Regions from separate parts of the Homo sapiens genome. Here region 2 is linked to region 1. The links are contacts of gene promoters, found by promoter capture Hi-C in human tissues and cell types (Jung and others, 2019). All regions are on one chromosome and are shown on one strand. The core of a region is centred on a gene start or on the middle of the fragment in contact, and the rest is flanking DNA. Distances in the headings are between cores, read along the strand shown. Region 1 holds the start of ATXN7L1 (ataxin 7 like 1). Region 2 overlaps ATXN7L1 (ataxin 7 like 1).

Region 1 (4,197 bases), core at 1,306-3,805:
GAACCCGGGAGGCGGAGGTTGCAGTGAGCCAAGATCGTACCACTGTACTCCAGCCTGGCGACAGAGTGAGAATCCGTATCAAAAAAAAAAAAAAAAAAAAAATCTGTTTCTCATGAGGCAAAGAGAATCTGAGAACAACAGTCTTCTGAAATAGAAACAGGGACTGGGGGGAAAGGATGTGAGTTTTGTGTGTGATAGTCATAACGCATCACCCAGACCTGAGAGGTGACAATCCTGTGCTATACCATGACCTTTACTCAACTTTAATTTAAAGATTTCCACAGCCTCATCATCTTTTATGGACACGTTGCCAGTAGCCTGATAACTGGGTCTTGCAAGCACTTAGAGATCTCAAGAGTTTGTGTGTGAAGAAAAATAATCTCTAGTGATGCTTCCCACTGCCAACACACATGAACATTTAACACAAATAAGCTGCCACTTGTAAGAAGTCCACTTGACATCAATCCCTCGTGCATCCTGAAGACACCTGTCAAGATCACACTAAGATATTTAGAAGCAAACATCTTTAGAATAATGTTTTGTTCCCAAAGTGCTTAATTAGCAGAAACATTATGCTAGGGAACTGTCCTTGAATATGTACGCATTTTAACCTTCATGTTATTTTTTCTGAAGCACAAAATTTCCTCTCAGTGGATGGTCAGGAAATGATTGGGCACAGAAAACCAACCATCTGAAGTGTTGATTCATAAAATGAGTTCCATCTTTCCACGCAGGCTTCAGCTGCCTTCCAGGGTGACATCCCTTTTTATGAGGGGGACCATTCTTTGGCATCTAATGGCCTTTTCTCCATTCATTTGGGATGACCAATGCACCTATGGCCTACTTATGTCTGAACTCTTTCAATACCACCAACCTCTTCTGTCCCCTTGTGCCATCTTCCCACCCCCAATTTCAGCCAATTATGTTTATAAGACATCAGTTAGTGAATCACAATTCAAATGAATCCACCTATTTGCTTAGCAGCAAGTGGCCCCCGGAGTTGCTCCATTTGAAGCCCATAGGCCAGAGTTACATACGGCAGGCTTGCAAATGAGAACAGGATATGATTTATTTATGACGACCATATGTGTTTGATGCCCAATTGCAGCAGGTTGTGGCTTCTCTTGCATATCTTGGTCTGGGATGACCTATCTACTCAGTGTGTCCCATTTCAGGTACCGTATTTCCATGCTGGGAAAAGAGAGATGATGACTGCTGAGGGGCTGCACATACAGATGCTCCTAACCCTGCTTGCCACATAACAATCTGTGACCAAATGCAAAGTGGGCCAAATGTAACTTGCTGCAAAGGTTTGCCATGTACAATGGTTTTCAGTGGTGAGTGGAGAAGTAGCTGCTGGAATGACTGACCATGTGGGGTTCATTAAGCTGTTGTGCATTCACCCACGAGAAAGGCTGGGATGCTTGTGAAGGGAACTCCACTCTTCATTTCAGAAATTTTAACGCCCCACCATTTGGCAATGATGCTCCCAAGGAGAATGGCAGATATGCATCAGAAGGTTCAAACGTGGAGTCCAACTGAAGTGCAGTAAACTTCTGCCTTCAACAGTCTCACCCCCCTTTACCCCCCCCCCAGTTGTATTTATACTTTGAAAGAAGTTAACATGAAGCAGTAGTCACCTGGGCGTGCTCAATTTTTGACAAGCCTTAGTCACTCTGTACCCAGCAGAACAATTCACATTATATTCGAAATCCTGTGAAGATTCTGCCACACATGCTAACACTAAAATGCCAGTAGCTCCACTTACCTTCTTTATTAAGCCTCATAACCTCCCTGCTTTTTCCACCCTCTTTTCCAGCCTCTTCTAAATCTACATCTGCAGATGAAAAAGAAAAGGAAAACAGAAAATAAGGAAAAAAGGGGGGAAAAAAGCCAAAGTCAAGGGGGGAGGGAGAGTGTTTATTTGCAAACAGATCGATATAAATACTGTATATGAAATTCTTTCAAAAATTGACAATGCAACATTTTCTCCCAAGTCTGGGTTTCCATCTACCTGGCCCAGATAGGTACCCAAAAAACTATGCAAGCAGCAACAAAGTAGCCTTTTAAACGGACAACACCGTGGGGCTGCGAGCCCACCCCGCGGGCTGCCACGGGGAGCCGGGCACAGACAGACAGACAGCCCTGGCAGCCGGGCCTCTCCCTGTGCATTGATGATCTGTCTCTGTGTGTATTTATTTAGAGAGAGAGGGAGAAGCATGGAGGACACCGGGGGCCACTCTCTCTCTCACACACACACTTTTTCCCAGTGGCTCTAGGTGAATGGAAAGGTTACAGGATAATAAAAGGAGGAGGAGGTGGTGGGGTTCTTACTGTCGGAGCAGTGTAATTTGGCGGCGTCGATCCAGGAGGACCAGGGTTTGCCCAGAAACGCCTCCGGACTGGGCACTTTGCGATCCAGTGTCGCCATTGCTCTTCCTTCTTGTTGCTTTTTCCCTGTTCCTTCGGCAGCAGCAGCCGAGAGACACGGGATTCGAGAACGCTCCGACGTCATCTTCGGAACGTTCCGACATTGAGTGTTCTGAAAGGGGGAGGGAGGGAGGAAGGGCGGGATGGGAGGAGGGCGGCGGAGGAGGAGGGGAGAGGGAGCGGAGGAGGGGCGGGCGCTCGGGCTCCCGGAGCCGGCTCGGTGGGGCTCGCGCGCCCGCGGCCGCCAGGGGCAGCAGAGAGGCACCTGCAGTCCGCGCCCGCCCGCCCGCCGGGGCCGCCCGCCTGCCGGGGAGGGGCAGCGCGGACGGGCGAGCGCCGCGTGCGGGAGAGCGAAGGCTGCAGCGCGCCCGGCAGCCGGGATGCAGCGGCGCCGCCCAAGCCTGGGGCGCAGGGGTCGGGGCACACGGGGATAGGCCCGACGCGGGGCCGAAGGAAGGGTGGTCTTTCCCGCAGAGTTGCCGCTGGAGGACCGAAAGTTTTGCAGGCAGCCCTTGCTTCCAGCTTGTCGCTCTCTCCCCGCGTCCCTGTCGCCCAACGCGAGGCGCCCCCGCTGGGGTCCCGACGGCTTGGTGGGGAGGAGCCGTGAGGGGTTGCGCCCCCCACCCCCACCCGAGCCAGGGAAGGGACCCTGGTGACCTCGCCTCCCAGCCCTCACCCCCGTCACCCCTTTCTTCTCTTTCCTGGAGGACTTTGGACCATGGAGATTCTGCAGTTGTTGCTCTAGGAGCTGAAACCAGTGGGTAGATGTCGTTCTGAAACGCAGGTGAGTTTGGAGCGCTACGAGCTACCTTCCCATCTCAGGCTGCGGGGCGTGCAAAACTCAAAAGTTAGGGCCCCCGGACCCCCGGGTTCCCCGCGCGGTGCGTATCTCCGGCTCTCAGAGAACCACTGCATGGACTTTGCTCCAGGGTCAGCAGAGCGGGAGGGCGAATTTACGGCTCTTGGAAGACGACGCTAACGGGCCTAGCCCCTGAGCCGTTTCCAGCGCTCCCTGCCGTGAGACGAGGGTGGCCCGGGTTTGCGCAGGCAACCTTTGGCCAGGAATCTGATTCCTGGGAGAATTCACTTCAGGCTTAACTGCTCTAGCCAGCTAGAAAGGGAGCGCTAGATTTCCTCTGGATTTTGGACGTTGGGTGCTTTAGTTGAGATTTTCACCCTTTAAAGAAGGCTTTAAAAAGTCTTCTGTTACTTCTTTTTAACAAATCCTTTTGTTTACTAGAATTATCTAAACTATATGGACACCGCCCTCACCCCACAAGCGACATATTTTTTTTTCTCTTTCGCCAGCACCCTTTTAGCTCTCACCACTGCTGTTTCCCAAGTTGTCACAGCTGAAGCGCACTGATTGGAAGTTGCTTTGTACTGACTGAGTTCTGCCCTGGCTGAACCATCTAATAATTTCCCTGAGCTTGGCACCCTGTATCGCTAAGCCAGTGTTAGGATGGGCGATGAAGGAGGAGCTGCGGATTTGCCTTTAGTTGTGATGTTTGTGTGAGTCGGCTTGTTTGTGTCAGACTCAGATAAACTGCATTTGCCTTTGCTCTCTTTCGAAGGGCTCCTACATAGCTAAGGTGTCGCTGGGTGAAGAATTCCCATTGTAAGAATTGGTGGTGTTAACAAATATGTATTACTTGTTGACCTCTTGTTATATGCTAGACCCTGGGCTTGACATTTCCTTCCTTCCTTCCTTCCTTCCATCTGTCCATCTTAAGTCAACCAATATTGCCTGTCATGGAACAGCTGTGC
Region 2 (4,296 bases), core at 647-3,146, 68 kb before region 1:
CCACTCACCATGCGGGCACCCTGATCGTGGGTGTCAGCCTCCAAAATTGTGAGAAATAAACCTCAGTTGTTTAAGCCACCCAGGCTATGGTACTTTCTTATAGCAGCCCGAGCAGACTGAGGACATATGGGGAGGAGAGCTTTGTTTTGCAGCCTACTAAGTGTGAGAAACTGATCTGCAGTCCAAGAGGCAAGCTGGGGCCAGAGAGACAGAGTGGGGACATCATGAGCAAGCGGGGGCCAAGCTGGGGTTGTGCACAGTCTCCCTGTGAAACAGTGTTGTCTGACAACAGGGTTAAGGCTAGAATTTGGGGAACACCAATAAATAACAAGAAGATGAGAGGAGGGAAGGGGCCAGTGAAGGAAGCTGAGAGGAACGCTCGCAGAGGGAGGAGGTGAGTCATGAGGAAGTGCCCAGGAGGACCCAGCAACAGAGTCAGAGGCACAGAGAAGCCACGTGGGAAGCACTGCAGTGTTCAACACCTCTGACAAGGAGTGAAAGCTCTGGGGAAAAAATAGGGTGTGGAAGTCAACTGGCAGTTGCTGTGGGGGGATGTACAACCAAGAAAGGGTGACTTACTTGTTTCAATTTTAAACAACAAATATGTGAACAGGGCTTTAGTCTGCAAGAAGCCAGCAGAGCCTTCTTTTCCCTTTTGCCATCTTCACCTGGCCTCCTGGGCCAGGGCACGCTGCCATCCAGGTGTCCAGCCAAGCTTCCTGTGCATGGATGACCACCTGTTGCCCCAGGATTTGGCACTGTCCAACTTCCCAGCATAGCTGCCTTTCTGCTGCCCCACCACAATGCCAGCTACATTGGGTGCTGACCACATGCCACACACCCTGCTCCACAAACATCAGTTAGTGTCCTGAAGAACCTCATGAGGGAAACTTGACCAGACCCAGCTTAGAGGTGAAGAACCCAGGCTTTAGAAAAGTCAAGTCACCTGCCTGATGTCATACTGCTGGTAAATGCTGTGCAGAATTTGAACACTGTGTGTCAAACTCCACTGCACTTCCCTGCCTCAAAAGAGCCTTTCATTTCTTCCTTGAAAGAGCTGCCCCACACTGACACAAACCCATGCAGGGCGAGAACAGGACACACCTTCTGACGCGGCACTCCTGGGTAGGCTGTTGCAGGAATGGCCCCCCAGTTGTTTATACCTTCCAATCTTCACACCCTTGGGTTCCCCCTTTTCACATTGATTCTGGGCTCAGTCACATGACTTACTTTGGCCAACAGACCATTAGCAACTGTGACAGACACTTATAAAATACTTATGCACTGGGTTTGTGTGCCCTCTCTTGTTCTCCTTGGAACCCTCATGTGGAAAGCCCGGGCTGGGCTGCAGTAGCATGGACGGACCCACATGGAGCACAGGTGAGCTGTTCCTGCCCAGACCTCTCCAGACCGAGCAGCCTCCCAACCACCAGACAGGTGAGGGAGGGCCTCTTTGACCATCCAGCCTGGGCTGCGCTATCCGCACCAGAAGAAACACCCAGAAGACCCACAGAATCATAGTAAGTAATGTTTACTGTCTTAAGCCATCAAGTTTTGGGGTGGTTTGTTGCACAGCAAAAGCTAGCTAACTGATACAAGTCCTTAAAGAGGCCTGAGCTAGCATCTCCTTCCAGCTCTGAAGCACTGGAGGATAATTCTTGGATCTCTAGTGTCCACAGACTCTTTCTGCAATGTCAGAACCACCCAAGAATACAGCACTGTCCTTGGCCTGGAGGGTCACTCTGCTCCTAGAAAGCAGGAAAAGGAAGAGGCCTTTATATACCTTCTCCCCAGGACACACAGGGCCTGCAGGCAGCCCTGGTGGGTGCCAGGTTACTTAGGGACAAGGTGACAGTGGCATGCTTTTGCCATTTGTCCCCAGCCAAGTGTTTTTCCACTGATGTGAAAGGAAAAAGATAATTTCTCTAGTGAGCCCTACTGCAAAGACTCTGAGGCAGCATTTCATCAAAGGGTGCTGGGAAGCACTGGGGAGACAGCAAAACCCAAAAACCTCCAGCTCCACTCAGCAAGGAGCTTGCTGCTTCTGTTTCCAGAGAGGCGGAAAAATGAATGAGCACTCAGGAAAGCCAACCTGATCAGTGGCACTTTGATAAGATGACAAAATTGCTCCCTCCTCCAGTCCAAATCCACTCTCTGTGGTGAACTATTATGGGAAGGAAGCATCAACTAATTAGAAGCATCTCTGGGACATGAGAAAAATCAGCACCTAAAATGCCTAAGCAGAGAGAATTCCTTGTTAAGAAGAGAGAAAACAAAACAAAAAACTGCTAGGATGTCACTTTGCCCAAGCATATTTATAAAGGGAGGAGGAGATAAGAATTAATTGGGACAGGAGCTTCTACCTAAGTGACATAAAAGACACAATTATTTTTGCTGCTTTTACAGATCAAGTGCCCCTTCCAGGTGGGGATAGAGCCCTGGCACCACCCACCATTTTGAAAAATGACTTTTAGTCTTCCGTAGTTCTAACTAAGCTTGAAATTAAGATGGTTCTTTTGTTTACTCCCCCTGTTGGGGAAGCTCTAACCACCTATCAAAAACACCAATGTCTGGATTATTTATTTCTCATTGTCCAACCTACGGGGCATAGAAGAGTTTTATGAAGCCAACATGTGAGGCGTTTCTCCCAAAGAAGCGTGGATGCACCTCCCCATATTGCAGAGCCCTTTTATACTATGGTCCTTTGATAATCTGGATTTTGACAGACAGAACTAATGCCTGACTTGGAGCAGGACAAAGAGCCCTGGAAGTCAGAGGCTTCATTCTTGTCACCCTCTTTCCTTTATAAGCTGCGAGCACTTGGGTAAGTCCCTTAACCTTGAGAAAATTCAATAAAACAAAGGGTTAGTGACTAATATATTACATCCTTTTTAAAAAACAAGTTGTGGTTTAAAAAGCCCCATATAACATGAGATCTACTGTCTTAACACATCTGTGAGTGTATAGTACAGTATTGTTAACCATAAGCACACTGTTGTAAAGCAGATCTCTAGAACTGACTCAGCTTGCACTACTGAAACTCCACGCCCACTGAGCAGCAACCTCACTTCCTCCTTCCTCCGGCCCCTGGCACTCAACCATTCTATGTTCTGCTTCTACGAGTCAACTGCCTTAGATACCTCATATCAGTGGAATCAGGCAGTATTGGTCCTTTATGACTGGCTTATTTCATTTAGCATAGTGTCCTCAAGGTTCAAATATATATCCTTACAATGATACTGACATGGTACTCACTGTTTCCATGGTAAGTGGTTACATATATTAACGTATTTAGCCCTCACAGAAACCCTTCAAGGTAAGGTGGCATGATTATCTCCTTTTGATAGATGAGGAAACTGAGGCAAAGGGAGGTGAAGTGAGGTGCCTATGCTTACCTGCTGTGTAAGTGGCTCCAGACTCCTTTTTTTTTTTTTCCAAGACAGGGTCTCACTCTGTTGCCCAGGCTAGAGCATAGTTATGCTATCATAGCTCACTGTAGCTTTGACCTCCTGGGCTCAAGTGATCCTCCCAACTCAGCCTCCCAAGTAGCTGGGACGAAAGGCACATGCCACCACATCCACCTAATTTTTTAAATTTTTTGTAGAGACGAGGTCTCACTATGTTGCCCAGGCTGGCCTCGAATTCCAGGACTCAAATGATCCTCCAGCCTTGGCCTCCCAAAGTGTTGAGACTACAGGTGTGAGCCACCACACCCAGCCCAGACTCCATTCTCTTGAACATAACACCATGTTCTTTCTGTACAGTTTAAAATTTCTATTTTAGCAAGTAGGCTCACAGAGATACTGAAGTCACTGAGGAAGATGGCAAAAGATGGGGCAGGGAGGATAAACGAGATGTGGTGTTGGAGAGATCTACCCTTGTATAGTTCAGAGTGGTCTTTCACAGCAGGAAGAGGATGGCCTTGGAGCCAGGGAGACCTGGGCCCAGTCCTGGCTCTCCCTTGCTCTAGGCCCTTGGGAAACACCAGTCACCAAAACTGGCAAGACCCTTGCCTTGTAGACATCACATGCTAGCAGGTGAGACAAACAACAAACAATAAGTATTCCCAATAATGTCTGCTATAGAAAGGGTAAAGTGTTATAAAAAAACAAACAAACAAAACACTGGTGCTGGGAAGGCTGGCTGGAATTGTAAAAAGGGTGCCACTGAGAAGGTGATATCTGAGCAGACTAGAAGAAGGTGAGAAGGTAGATTGTGAGGCTGGAGCACATCTAGGGGATGGTGTTCCGCACAGAGGGAAGAGCTAGTGCAAAGGTCCAGAGAAGGGGAGAGCCT

Evidence for each region. Contacts are between HindIII fragments. The study calls those that stand out against the background at their distance.
Region 2: a fragment that was not itself captured here is called in contact with the fragment with the promoter of ATXN7L1 in region 1 in 3 of the 25 tissues and cell types used here (IMR-90 fibroblasts, mesenchymal stem cells and pancreas).

What each region holds. Positions count from the first base shown.
Region 1 is chr7:105,874,044-105,878,240 of GRCh38, forward strand. ATXN7L1 (ataxin 7 like 1) reads right to left here and starts at 2,556. Exons shown (of 12, transcript NM_020725.2): 1 at 2,335-2,556; 2 at 1,769-1,837. The coding sequence starts at 2,515. RefSeq lists a silencer at 2,599-2,808. The HindIII fragment of the contact is 16,114 bases long and covers 1-4,197 here.
Region 2 is chr7:105,806,353-105,810,648 of GRCh38, forward strand. All of the region lies in intron 2 of ATXN7L1 (ataxin 7 like 1), which reads right to left. Among named protein-coding and RNA genes, the nearest start is that of ATXN7L1, 68 kb to the right of the region's middle. RefSeq lists enhancers at 23-192, 353-402, 1,043-1,092, 2,564-2,633, 2,754-2,863. The HindIII fragment of the contact is 3,708 bases long and covers 43-3,750 here.